2 separate regions of the Homo sapiens genome follow, and region 2 is linked to region 1. The links are contacts of gene promoters, found by promoter capture Hi-C in blood cells and fetal thymus (Javierre and others, 2016). All regions are on one chromosome and are shown on one strand. The core of a region is centred on a gene start or on the middle of the fragment in contact, and the rest is flanking DNA. Distances in the headings are between cores, read along the strand shown.

Evidence for each region. Contacts are between HindIII fragments. The CHiCAGO score rates a contact against its expected background, and 5 or more counts as called.
Region 2: a fragment that was not itself captured here is called in contact with the fragment with the promoter of TMEM123 in region 1 in 1 of 17 cell types (activated CD4 T cells); the score reaches 5.9 in activated CD4 T cells.

The regions. Positions count from the first base shown.
Region 1 is chr11:102,448,966-102,455,602 of GRCh38, forward strand. It overlaps TMEM123 (transmembrane protein 123), which reads right to left and starts at 3,800. Exons shown (of 5, transcript NM_052932.3): 1 at 3,559-3,800. The coding sequence starts at 3,658. TMEM123-DT (TMEM123 divergent transcript) reads left to right here and starts at 3,954. Exons shown (of 2, transcript NR_135053.1): 1 at 3,954-4,084. RefSeq lists enhancers at 2,804-2,853, 3,034-3,323, 4,054-4,163 and a silencer at 3,644-3,933. The HindIII fragment of the contact is 13,483 bases long and covers 1-6,637 here.
Region 2 is chr11:103,086,633-103,093,269 of GRCh38, forward strand. DCUN1D5 (defective in cullin neddylation 1 domain containing 5) reads right to left here and starts at 5,528. Exons shown (of 8, transcript NM_032299.4): 1 at 5,155-5,528; 2 at 2,595-2,686. The coding sequence starts at 5,240. RefSeq lists enhancers at 4,648-5,265, 5,266-5,883, 5,813-5,862, 5,933-5,982 and a silencer at 4,828-5,122. The HindIII fragment of the contact is 1,427 bases long and covers 1,721-3,147 here.

The DNA of each region.
Region 1 (6,637 bases), core at 2,550-5,049:
TCAGGAGGGTAGATTATTCCACAGGAAGTTCTACTTTGGCCCCTGTTGTTATGAAACATATCTTGAAGCTGTCAGTAAAAGGGACTGTATTACCAGGTTTTTCAAGATAAACATCTAGCTTACATAACAAACACTTACATAGTACTTACTATATACCAGCCACCGAATGCAACAGCTTTGCCAAAATTCATTTACCCACACAATTGGGGACAGATGGGCCAATTTCTGCCACTGAGGACTCTGCTCTTCTGAGTGGAGTGGACCATTTCAGGAGAGGCCGATTCTACTCACAGGCATCTCTAGGTCTTGCACCACCCAACCAACACCCCTAATTTCATACAATGGAGGGATAAAATAGGATTTTCTTATTTAACTGCACCTTCTCAGTAGGGTTTTAATTTTTAAATTAGTACACCTTTAGATTTGGAAAAAATGTAAGAGATTTCTATGTCCCAATTAAGCAACTTTTCAGAGTGCTTTATTCGTTTTGAGTCTTTGTCTAATGAAGATTAAATATGTATAACACATAGGGAGAGAGCAAGTGTATTATTGTGTCCTTTTCACAAAGATGAACTCTCCCCCACTTAAAAAAAAATCCTCCAAGTACAAAGAAAAGCAGTAACTTTGAAGGATTTATCTTTACTTCTTGGGCAAATTTCTTCTTTGTGAGAATTTCTTCTTCTTGATGGGACTATCATCTATTTATCACAAAAGGATACAGTGTAAGATTAACTTGAAAAAGATCAAGGTCAACAGACTACGTAGATGTATTTAGCAGCAGATAGCAAACAATTGCCAACATTATTAGGTGCTTACCACAAGCCAGGGTTATGTGCATTAGCTCATCTAACCCTCTCAACAATTCTTAGGAGTATTGTTTTGCAGACAAGAACTGAGGCCCAGAGAAGGCCGCCCAGATACAAAGTGGCAGAGACTGGAATTGGACCAGATAGTTTGATTCCTAAGCCTGCAGATATGAGTGCCAAAATGGAACTACTGATTTTCTACTATAAACCTGCTCCTCCCCCAACCTTCCCAATTGTTGCATTACCAGCTGCTCAACCCCAAAACCAAGAGGTCATCCTTTGATTCTTCTCTCTTCCTCATCCCACCCTCCAATCCATCAGCAAGTGATTAGTCCCAACCCCCCATAGATCTAGAATCCACCCTTTTATCTCCATTGCCACTCACCATCATCTTTTGGCTGGGCTAACACAACAGCCTGTTTTTGTTTCCCTGCTATTGTCGCTCTTAACGCGATGATTTCTTAATTTCTTGGCGACTTATTTGAACACTTGAATACAGCCATTTTCAAGCCACCTCAATCCTTGCACTTTTCAGTTACAAGTCAAAAAAGTCCCTTCTTTCCACAGTTGTTCAAGGTGGGTTTCTGTCACTTGCCACTAAGAGTAATGACTAACAGCCGCCCCTCCCATCCTGTTAATGTTAATGTCATTCATTGGAATACTACAATAAATCCTGTTTGCTGATTTGCAAACTTGCTCATAGTCTCCCTCCTCCTTCAACTGATATTTATAAAGCTATGCAGCTGACTGTGAAGAATATTTTAAAAGCAGAATTTCAATAATGTTTTTATCTTCTCCCACAATATTCTAGGCAATGGTAATACTGTGGAATAAAAGTATTATCTACTTCAAGAGCCATCATCATCTAACGCGGCTTAGTGGTGAAATGGTTAATTGAAAATTTGGATTTTGATCTGAAACCAAACATGTATTAATTGTTTTACTTGCCATAAATTAGCTTACTTATCTATAAAATGGGGACGATACTGTGAGGATTCAATGGGATGATTTATGGACCTAAATTAGCATAGCGTGGGATGCACAGAATATGTACCCAGTAAAAATCAGCCATTAAGAGTTTTAGTATGATGGCTAAAAATCACTATACTTCGTAATGACATTGTATACAGATTACACTATACATGAAGACTACGATTAACAGTTACTAGCTTTTTTGAGAAATCTTCTATTGTATACCTTTTAGTCTAGTTGCAAGGTGACATTATATAGTCTGTAGAAACAGATTCCACCTCTGGTTGGTTATACTAGTTTATGAATTCAGGGCTCGCCTACTGTAGAGCATTTCAAGTTTTGCAAATGGGACTAACCTCTAGTAAGACATTAAGTAATAAACAGAACAAACAGTGCTAAAATAGGGCAAAAAAAATCTGTGTTATCAGGGCAAAAGAAAGAAAAGCATGGTCACTCACAGTTTCTCTAATCGGTAATTCATTGAAACAGTAAGGCTTATCTTCACAAACACAGCAACAAATTTTTAAAAATGGAGACCTCACCTCATGAGATAATTGGTATAAAATTAGGACCAAGATACACGATGGACATGATTTTACCACTTTTTTTCTTAAATGATCTCAAAATTAGGTCTGCGAAGCCAGTTTGTCACACGCACAATTAAGCAAACAAAAAAACTTCAGCAAAACAAAGAAAAATTGTTAATTCACCCAGGTTATTCCAGAAAAAGCAAGTGTTGTGCCTGAACCTTCCAGATTTACAAACTGCCTTTTTCTTTTGCTGGATAAAACGAACCTAAGGCTAACATATACAGTGGATGGATAGAACTTAAAACCATGAAAACCTTGGGTTACTTAACTTATCCTAGTTTACTGACCATTACCTAGGGACCTGACTTCTCTAACAGTTGACAAAGGAAAACAGTATTTACACAACAAATCCCAACTTCCTGGTTTCATCCAAAAAGGGCTGTTTGAAGTCTCCAAAGGGCCAAGGGCCTAAAACGAAACAAATTCCGCCCTACACAGAAAAGCAAAGTCAACATCATCCTGTTACGACCTTACTAGCGACGACAAGGGCCACCGGCGACCGTGCAGCTGTGCCCTTAACGCTGCGCAGCTGCCGCGCGCCTCGGCCGGGTGTTTATGGCACACGAGGGGTGGAGAGCGCCCCGCCATGGGGGCGGCCGCCTCAACTACCGCGAGGGCGGGGCGCGCTCCCCAAAAGCTCCCAACTAGCTCCAAGAGCCCCGAAGTCTAACTTCGAGCGTCAGGGGGACCTAAAGATTGTAATTCATCTGGATAATACTGCATAATATTAGACGCTGAAATGCCTGGGGGACGCTTGAAAAGCTCCCCGACTAACTGGGAGACGTTTCCGCGGGCCTAGGTAGACATATTTTTCAACTCAGCTAATCTTGTTTACAAACGGAAGCCTTAGAAACTCTAACCTCGGCAAACATTAACTTCAGGGAAAGGCTGTAAAAACCAACTTGCGGTAACTCAACAGGTTATGCGCACCCGTCCCGGCCTGCGACCGCCGCATCCAAAAAGCGAGAGGGGAAGCACCAGGCAATTTCCTCAGCAGGCGGCCCCGGGGCCAGCGGGTGACTGGTCCAAACCTCAGTTTCCCCCACCCCGCCCGGTCACCTCTGGGTCCGCCCCGAGCGTTCGGCCAGACACACGCGGAACTTTCTGTACCAGAGCCCAACTTGGGAACCCAAGCCTCGGCAGCGCGCTGCCTCCCACGAACGGGGCTGACGACCCCCGCAGCCACTTACCCGCCATGGCTGCGCTTTCATGGGCGGCCCCCAGCAGCGCTAGCACCTGCAGCGTCCCCAGGAGCAGCGCGGCCCAAGCACCTCGCGCGCCGAGTCCCATTGTTCCGAGGGCAGGATGCGGCAGCCTCGTGGGCTCCCAGCCGAGGTGGCGGCGGCGAGAGCGGCTCCTCTGCGCAGCCGGCGCCGGCTCCGCTTCCCCTTCGGCCGCGCACGTTTCCCCTCCCGCCGCTTGCCCCCCGAATGACCAAATAGGGCGCAGGAGCGGGGCCTGGAGGGGGCGTCGCGTGCGCAGCCGGGGCGGCGGGGCCGGGCTGGGTGGCGCGGGGGCGGGCTCGGGGTTCTGGGCGTGGCGACTCGGCTCGCGGCCTCCCTCGCAGGCGCGCGCTTGGGAACCCCAGAAACCGCGAGCCGTTTCCTTTCTCTTCGGAAATGGCAGTTTTGTTGTCCTGGATGAAGGCGAGCGCCGCTGCCTCCCTGAATGCTGAGCACGCTGGCTTCGCGGTGCCCGGAAGGAAGCCTTTGAAGAGTAGTTTTGCGGGCAGGGAGGGGACAGGGGTGCGTGCGACTCAGAGTGAGAGGGAGGAGTTGCAGGGCAAAGGCGGGAGGAGGGGGAGATTCTGGAGAGGAACTTGAGGGGATGGGATTCACTCTAAGGAGTCCTGGGCGGTCGGAGCTTTCCCCTCGCGTGACCCAGCCTAAGGGGGAAGTGGAGAAAAACAGCTCGACAGATTTGTTGCTTAAATTCAAACGTAAAACACCTACGATCTTCTTATCCCAGTTGTACTTCATCTTCTCCACGGGTTCCCTGTATCTCTGATTAAGACACGAGATTAGTGGAGTGGGCGGGTGGGGGCGCGCGCAGGAGTTGGTAGCAACTCTCAGTGAAATACAGTAGAGCCATGGAAAGCGGGGGCTGCATTAATCCAACCAGCCTTTTCTCTCCTTGTGCCCTGCTGTCCCAGTTCAGATGAAATGGCCAGTTTTGAACAGTTTTTGGCTGAGTTCCTTTTAAACCCTTGGAGCCAATGCTAATCACTTGTCTTGACTTGAAGTGCTTGTAAAGTCTGCATTTTCATCGTGCTCAGAACTCTGAAGTGACATAGCTACCTGTGGCTAATGCATGAGAATAACAAAGGCTGAGTCCTGGCTTGGGTGGGAACCCTCAGCTGAAGTAGAAGACTGAAGGATCCAAGGAACCTAAAATCACAGTGAATCCCCACCTGCAAAGGTCTTAATGTTGCAGATCTTTGGCACCTGAGCCAGATTTCATCACATAAAGGCCACATTGCAGTTAACTTTTGAAAACTGTGTTATGAGAGGTAGAACTTTCTCATGTCAGGCAAATCCATCATTACAGAGGTCTGACTGGTCCTAGAGATTAACTGAGACAATCTGTCCTAAATTTACAGAGACTTCCATCTGTGGATTCAGTCAGCCAACCTGCAAATGTTTCCCCTGCAGCTTATCATGGACAAAAAGCAAGCATTGCACATTTCGATTTTGGTTATTCTATTTAACTGGGGAATCTGGTTTAGGAATAAACCGTTCTGGTGACTACCCCATTATCCAAGCATTTCCCAATCTAGGCCCAACCTGTCTTTCCAGCCTTGGTTCTGTTGCCCATGGAGAAGGGTGCTTTCTGGTTCCTGGCATTTGCATACGTTGTTCTTTCCTTCTGGAATTCTCTTCACCAACCCACAGCTAATACTTCCTTTAAGGCTCAGTGTACTTATAGCCTGGGAATCTGGGGTGGAATAAGAGGTCTGGATGTTTATATCCCCACCACATTCATGTGTTGAAACCTAATCCTCAAGGTGATGATAATAAGATGTGGGACTTGGGTGGGCATAGTGGCTCATGCCTGTAATCCCAGCACTTTGGGAGGCTGAGAAGGGTAGATCGTTTGAGGTCAGGAGTTGAAGACCAGCCTGACCAACATGGTGAAACCCCGCCTCTACTAAAAATACAATTATCTGGGCGTGGTGGGACGTGCCTATAATCCCAGCTACTCGGGAGGCTCCCGAGTAGCTGGGAGGCTGAGGCACAGGAATCGCTTGAACCTGGGAGGTGGAGGTTACAGTGAGCCGAGATCACGCCACTGCACTCCAGCCTGGGAGACAGAGTGAGACTTGTCTCAAGAGAAAAAAAAAAAGATGTGAGGCTTTCCGGAGGTGATTTGGTTGCTAATGAATGGGATTAGTGCCCTTGTAAAGGAGGCCTGAGGGAACTTGTTTCACCCTTCTGTACTGTGAGGGCACAGCAGGAAGACGCCATCTGTGAGGCAGAGGGCCCTCACCAGACACCAAATCTGTTGAGGCCTTGCTCTGTCAACTTCCCAGCCTCCAGAACTGGGACAAATAGATTTCTATTGTTTATAAATTTGTTGATAAAGTATCCCATTTAAGGTATTTGTGTTATAGCAGCAGAAACGGACTAAGACAGTGTGGAGAACAAGATATTTATTTACTTGGACAGTTTTTCCCGGGTACTGACCTGTTGGAGACACCTTCAGATCTCTGCTATCTGATTGCCACACCACAGTGAGTGGGTGTGCCCATCTTTGATACTAACAGCTCAGTACTGTGGATTGCCCATGTTTTTTCTAGTCTGAGGAGAGGGGAAAGAGCAAGGAACTGTGTGGCCTTCCTGCTCTCTTGGAAACTCTATTGGGAGGACTAGCCTCCCAGAGAAGTTGTAGCCCCAGTTATGCCTCAGGTTCAGCCCCCATCACTGTACCAACATTTTACTTTGGTGATGTGAAAAGTTAAAAGAACAGCCCTTGGCCATTTAGGTCTCTCCTCCTTTCCAGCCTCATGTCTGGATCCCTCTCTGTAACCTCACTAGAGCACTCAAAGTTTTCCAAATATGCTGGGGCCTTCCACGCCCCTGTGTTCTTGCTCCTGTTCTTCCCTTTGCCCAAGATGCCCTCTAACCTTTTCTCTTAGGCAGTTTCTACTCCTCTCTCAAGATTCCCTTCATATCCCATCTCCCCACCCATCTGGGCAGATTTTAGTGCTTGGATCCCTCTGCTCATACATTGATCAACTGGGTCTCTAACCTTGTTCTCTATAAAATATTC
Region 2 (6,637 bases), core at 1,184-3,683, 640 kb after region 1:
ACTGACTGTCTTCCTCACCAGAAGGCAAGTCCCCCAAAGGCAGGGATCTTGTCTGACTTGCTCAGCACTATATATCCAGCACTCAGCACAGTGCCTGACTCAAAACAAGTGCTCAATATTTATTGAATGGATGACAGAAATTAACCAAGAGTACCAATATTTTCTTTGCAAAAGTGAAAATTAGCTTAAATAAAAAATAAACATAAAATAATATCTATTATAATAAAATGTTTATAACTATATATAAACATTATAAAATTTAAATAAAAAATACATAAAAGCATAGTAGTTAAAAGCATGGACTTTAGAATCAGAAGGACCTGGGTTTGAATCCTGGCTCTTGTCACTATATGATCTTGGGCAAATTAATTAATCTAAGTCTCAGTTTTCTCATCTATAAAATGAGGGTATGGCCAAGCACAGCAGCTCATGCCTGTAATCCCACCACTCTGGGAAGCTGAGGCAATTAGATCACTTGAGCCCAGGAGTTGGAGACCAGTTTGGGCAACATCGTGAAACCCCATTTCTTTTTTTCTTTTTCTTTTTTTTTTTTTTTGAGGCAGAGTCTCACTCTGTCACCCAGGCTGGAGTGCAGTGGTGTTATCTCGGCTCACTGTGAGCTCCGCCTCCTGGGTTCACGCCATTCTCCTGCCCCAGCCTCCCAAGTAGCTGGGACTACAGGCGCACACCACCACGCCCGGCTAATTGTTTGTGTTTTTGGTAGAGAGAGTGTTTCACCATGTTAACCAGGATGGTCTCGATCTCCTGACCTCGTGATCTGCCTACCTTGGCCTCCCAAAGTGCTGAGATTACAGACGTGAGCCACCACACCCGGCTGAAACCCCATTTCTACAAAAAATTTAAAAAATTAGCCAGGCGTGGTGGCACATGCCTATATTCCCACCTACTAGAAAGGCTGAGGTGGGAGGATGGCCTGAGCCCAGGAGCTCAAGGCTGCAGTGAGCCATGATCACAGCACTGCGCTCCAGCGTGGGCGACACAGTGAGACCCTGTCTCAAAAAATAAAGTCGTAGTGGGAGGTGGTGATAATACTACCTACTTAATAGAACAGTCACAAGAAAAAATAATATACCTGGGACAATTCCTGGAATAATGCAATTATTATGTTGGCTATTAAAAATGCTAATATAGTAAACAAATGTTTAATTAGAATCTTACACTACCTAGGAAAGTTCCTAGTTGAGGCAAATATTTTCTATTTCTATTGTATCTAGTAACCTTTATAAGTGAAATAAGATGGGTGACCTTTTGATTATATATCATTCATACCAGTAAAACTGGCATTTGGGATAATGGGTCAACATTTTAAATGGAGGTCAGTAAGAAATGAATTCCCTTCATTTAAATTGGGTTAGTGGTTGTCTTGGGATGCCAGTAATAGCATTTATTTCTGGTCTAGAAAGAATCTGTTCTGTTACTAAACAATTTTAAAATTGTACTTTGGGATCACTCAGCTGATTCCAACAGTAAAGTTACTGCCCCCCTTTCAAAATAGTCTCACATTCCATACAATTAGCCTAAACTTATACCTCAAGTTCAAAGTATACTACTTTAGACCTTAATGTGGATGAGCACTAAATATAAGGCAATAGCTACATATACACTTCCATTTTAAACAAACATTTTGAGAATGATAGTGATTAAAAGAAGGAGAAAAAAAAGTGAAGCAGGTTAAAAAAAAGGAAAAGGAAAAGAAAAAAGCTTTAAAATCAATAACTCCAAAAAAACAAAACTATTCTAAGGGGAAAAAAATTCCATATATATTTATGAGATAGTATAAGTGTTCTTTTGCATATATTTGCTTAACTCTTCAGCCCCATCTCTGGCTGGCTTTGACTTTCGCCTCTAAAACACAACCCCATCCTGGGCCTAGGGCTCTTCATCCACCAGTTACAAGATTTAGCTGAGGTTAAGTTAGCTCCTCTAGAAAACTCCCATGACACTTTAAAAGCTGGGTTATATATCCCTCCTATGAACTCTCACAGTGTATCTTCTGAATATAGTATTTATCACACTGTATTAATATCAGTCTATTTATTTTCTTACTATTGCATCTCTAGTAGAAGTGGATGGCTAAATGATAATTGTTAAAAAGTAAATGTGTTGTACAATTATAACTGAGGGGTTTAAATCTTTTACTATGTCTCCCCAAAAGTTTCAGAAAATGTTAGTTCAGAAAAATTTCAAAAAGAGAATATTGAATAGAAATGTTTTATTATGTACTTTGTGTTTTCCACAATATCAAATACAAAAATGTTTTATTGTGTACCTTTTATTTTCCAGAATACTACTTTAGCCAATAGATGTAAATAAATGAATCTTTGTTTACACGTTTTATTAATAGTAAATGAGTTCTTCCCTCCCAGTAAATATATACCGAATATATATTTAAAGAAATATCAGCCTAAATTGGCAACAAATTTTTAGTCTACCCACAATCTTCAGTCCTGACCCTCATCCCAGTACACAGCACTAACACATAGCAGGCCTGTAACAGATAATTTGTTAAATGAATAAGGCAAATAAACTTTTTAAAGCATATGACTAGTATCTTCTTATATTAATTTCATTACCTGCATATTCATAAAACCAAGCCAGGCACTTCTTGCTTGAAAAATGTTCCTCTCCACTTATTAGTCTAGCAGGGGGTTGGGATCTGCAATAGCTTAGAAAACACACAGACGCCTAAGATTTTTATCACATCTCAACTCTTAGAGAAAAACTAAGTTCAAAATTAACAACTTCCATTCACATTAAACAAAGGTTTTTTTTTTCTTCGGTTGGCATTGTTGGAAAAAAACTGAAGTTGTTAAGTAATTGCAACTTGAAACAGTAGTCTATACATAAGAATTATCGGCTAACAAAACCCAAATACCTTTTCACTCAGTATCAAAATCCAAAAATATCAGTAAGTTATTTCCGCACATTTTAAAAGACTACAAAGAAGTTCAACCTAGTAGGTGGGAAAGTATAAATATTTATTATGATTCTATTGATTTGCATAGAAATTCTATTTGTGTGTAATAGATAAATATTTGAAAACAAACTCTTACAAAGTATATTTTGATACTTAATGAATCAATATTTCAAAATAAAATGTTATATTAAGAGTTGTTTTATCACCTAAGCTTAAATAGATTTTTAAAGATAAATGATGACTTAGGACCTAAGGGTATATTAAATTACACAGATTTAAAAAAAACAACAAAAAAACACTAAAAGTTAATAATAGTCCAAATAATTGGGACAAGGCTATTTAATCCTAGGTTCTGTTCATTCTATTTCATTTTTTTCATAAAATCATTTTCATTGTTTTTCATAAAATAACTAAAATTTGGTAAGTTCAAAATGGCCTCTAGAATTTAATGGCCTTCAGAGAAACTTTTTTCAAGGAACTCAAATAATTACCCTACCACAATGATATAGAAATGATAGAACTTCTGTAACTGAGTAAAGTAAGAGTATCATATTTAAAAATTTAAATTGATAGAGCAAAGTATCACCTGAGTTCTAATAATACTGCCTGCTCAGCTATCTTAATGTACTTAACTTAAATAATTTTAATACATTATATACTTAAGATGGCCATGATATAGTACAAAAATGAATAATAATTTGCCTGTATCTTATAAAAATGTGAGCTACTAAAGTAACCATGTCAAATTCTAATGTTGACAAACAAGAGGTGTATGTATCATCGTTCACATTAATAGCCTAATACTCCATAGACTCCTTTACCAAAACACAGTAATGAGGGAAAAAAGTCGACCAATTACAAAAAAGAAGATGCAGACTATGTAAGTCATCTACCTCACAGTTTAAGCAGATCTCTCTTTAAGGAGAGCTCTATCATTATTTCCTTCTTATAATCCTGGCTACAGTCTCCTTTCAATAGTAGCATCTGAAGTTGTCATATCAAGTGCCAACCATTGATGAAAAGGCAGCTAATATGGTTATTTTTTAAAAAAGCATTTCTCAGTCGGGCGAGGTGGCTCACTCCTGTAATCCCAGCACTTTGGGAGGCCGAGGCGGGCGGATCGCGAGGTCAGGAGTTCAAGACCAGCCTAGTCAACATAGTGAAACCCCGTCTCTACTAAAAATACAAAAAATTAGCAGGGCGTGGTGGCGGGCGCCTATAATCCCAGCTACTCAGGAGGCTGAGGCAGGAGAATCGCTTGAACCCGGGAGGCGGAGGTTGCAGTAAGCGGAGATCGCGCCACTGCACTCCAGCCTGGACAACAGTGGAAGACTCCGTCTCAGAAAAACAAAACAAAACAAAAAAACAAAAAAACCATTTCTCAAACCAAAATTGCAGTTTTTTTGTAGCATAAATTTTGCTGTGATGCCTCCATGATATGCTACAAGGGGATCAAAGAGCTACTACTATATAGTTCTGCCTTGTCTTCTTTCTTACCAGTAGGACAGAGTACAAGAGCTCACAAATTATTTAATTTATGCTGAGAGCTAACAGCGTCCTGAATGCTAGAAGACAAAAAGCATGCAGGGCCTTTCCAACTCTGCACACAGGGACTTGGCATAGGTGAGGCACTATACTTCCAGAAAATGGGGCTCCTGCAATTTAAAAGGCCTCCTGCTGGGACCTTCCGGGTTAGGCCACTCCAAATACTAAATATGGAGGCCAATTATAGCATACAAGTTTTCCTTTCTACCATTCCCAAGACAGTTGTCAAGATTCCTTATGTTCTGCTTTCTTCACACTCTACAAAGAAATTCTAGAAGTGACCCTTCTGCGGATATGTACTCACTTCTAAGTCTAGAAAAAGGCAGAGGAGCGATACGGGAGTAGGGGATCGAGGGTCGGTTGTGGGGTGGGGGTGGGGGTGGGGGGAAGCGCAATTTACATATGCATCTGTTCCCCACCCTGCAGGGCACGTAGACTCTTAACGTGGGCGGCTCTTCTAGTCTCTCCATAAACGCCAGCGTGCACACACTCGAACACGAGGTCGGGTCGGGCGCGGAGACTCGCGGTGTTCGGCACCTACAGCCTAGCTCGATCAAAGGGGCCTCACCTGTCTCCAGCCCCAGCCCGGCAGGCCGGGCCCGACTCCTTTTCCTCCAGTTGTCCAGCAAAGGAGGGAGGAGGGAAGCTTGAAGGGTGGGGGGAGATGGTACCTGGAGATTTTACACTTTTTGAGGCCTCCGTCTTCCGCTACTGCTGCTGCCACCCCAGGGGATTTTCTCTTCTTCTTCACCGGCATCTTCCGCCCTCCCCGGCAGGGTGGGCAGGGGAGCCGGGGAAGGGGGTCCCTGTCCGCTGGAAGCCCCTCAGCGCTGGCACCCAGTTCCCAGAGACAGCAGCAAGCGGAGGAGCAGAGTCGCCAGCCCGCACCGGCGCGGCCCAGCCCGGCCGCCGCCCGCTCCCAGGTATCCTCGTCGTCTTTCTCTGACCGGGACAGGGCTGGCTCCTCGCCGGTGGACACTGCGGTTCGTTCTCACCGGGAGGAGATAACGCGGACAGCGCGGCAGCTCCACCAGTCACAGCAAGCAAGAGGCTCAGCCTAACCCGGAGGCGAATCGCTGAGGCCCGGAAGTGACGCAATCGCGGAGCCGGTCCCGGGAAGGGGCGTGGTTCCGGTTAGCCTCTGCCACTCGTAGGTAGGCCAGGCAGAGCGAAGCTGTCTGACCCGTCGACTGCGGCAGTCCGCGGAATTCTTGTATCCTGTCCAGGGTATCCTGACCTTTCTCATGAAGCTTCTACCGCGCTCTGATGCTGGCAGTCACCGCCAAAAAGTGAAACTACTAATACTTTGCAGTTGACGTTAAAAACAACCTGGTAAAGTAGACCAAGTTCCACTTCTGAGCTCTTCCACACGATAACCTCACCTGAAGTGTTCCCACCCCGTAAATGCATTGTCACCCTGTGTCTTGCGTGTTTTTTTTATGGGCCTGTGATCAGCCACCCACTCCCCCTTCTCCCTACCTTTGCATATCACTTTGTCCTGTATTGAAACTTAGCTCTGCCATTATTTCCACAGAGCTCACCTCTCCGATAAGAGACAGTAGGTGACTGCGACTCAGTAGAGAGAAATTTGGGGGACAGTTCTAAGGAACCTCCCCCTAGACCCAAAACACACTGTAATCTATTCATCTCCACTTAGGTGGAAATACTGTTTTTAAATAATGGTTATTGTATGTAAAGACATAGTAGAAAGTCGTTAGTAATTCTGTTGGTAAAATAATCTCTGCAAACCAACTGTGATGGGAGAAGACTAAAAGTCTTTGAGTAATAGTTGAAGTGGTTCCTGTGAAACTACCCTCACAATGGCACCCTAATCTGGTCAATCCGAATATCATATTTCCTTAGTGTTATTAATTGGTTCAGGATGGACACATACTCAGGCCAGGCCAATGAGTGCCAATGACACAAAATTGAACCACCAGAAAGCAATTTTATTTCCTATGGATTTGAACCAGAGAAGGTATGGAGAATGAAGCCAAAACTCAGAAGAGACTAGTATCAAGCAGAAAAATAGAAAAACCAGGATGTGATTATATGATATGAGCCCAAAATCCATGATATGCCCTGGAATTTTCACTTATGTGAAGCAACAAATTTCACTATTTTGCATATTTAGTTCAATTCTCTGTTACTTAA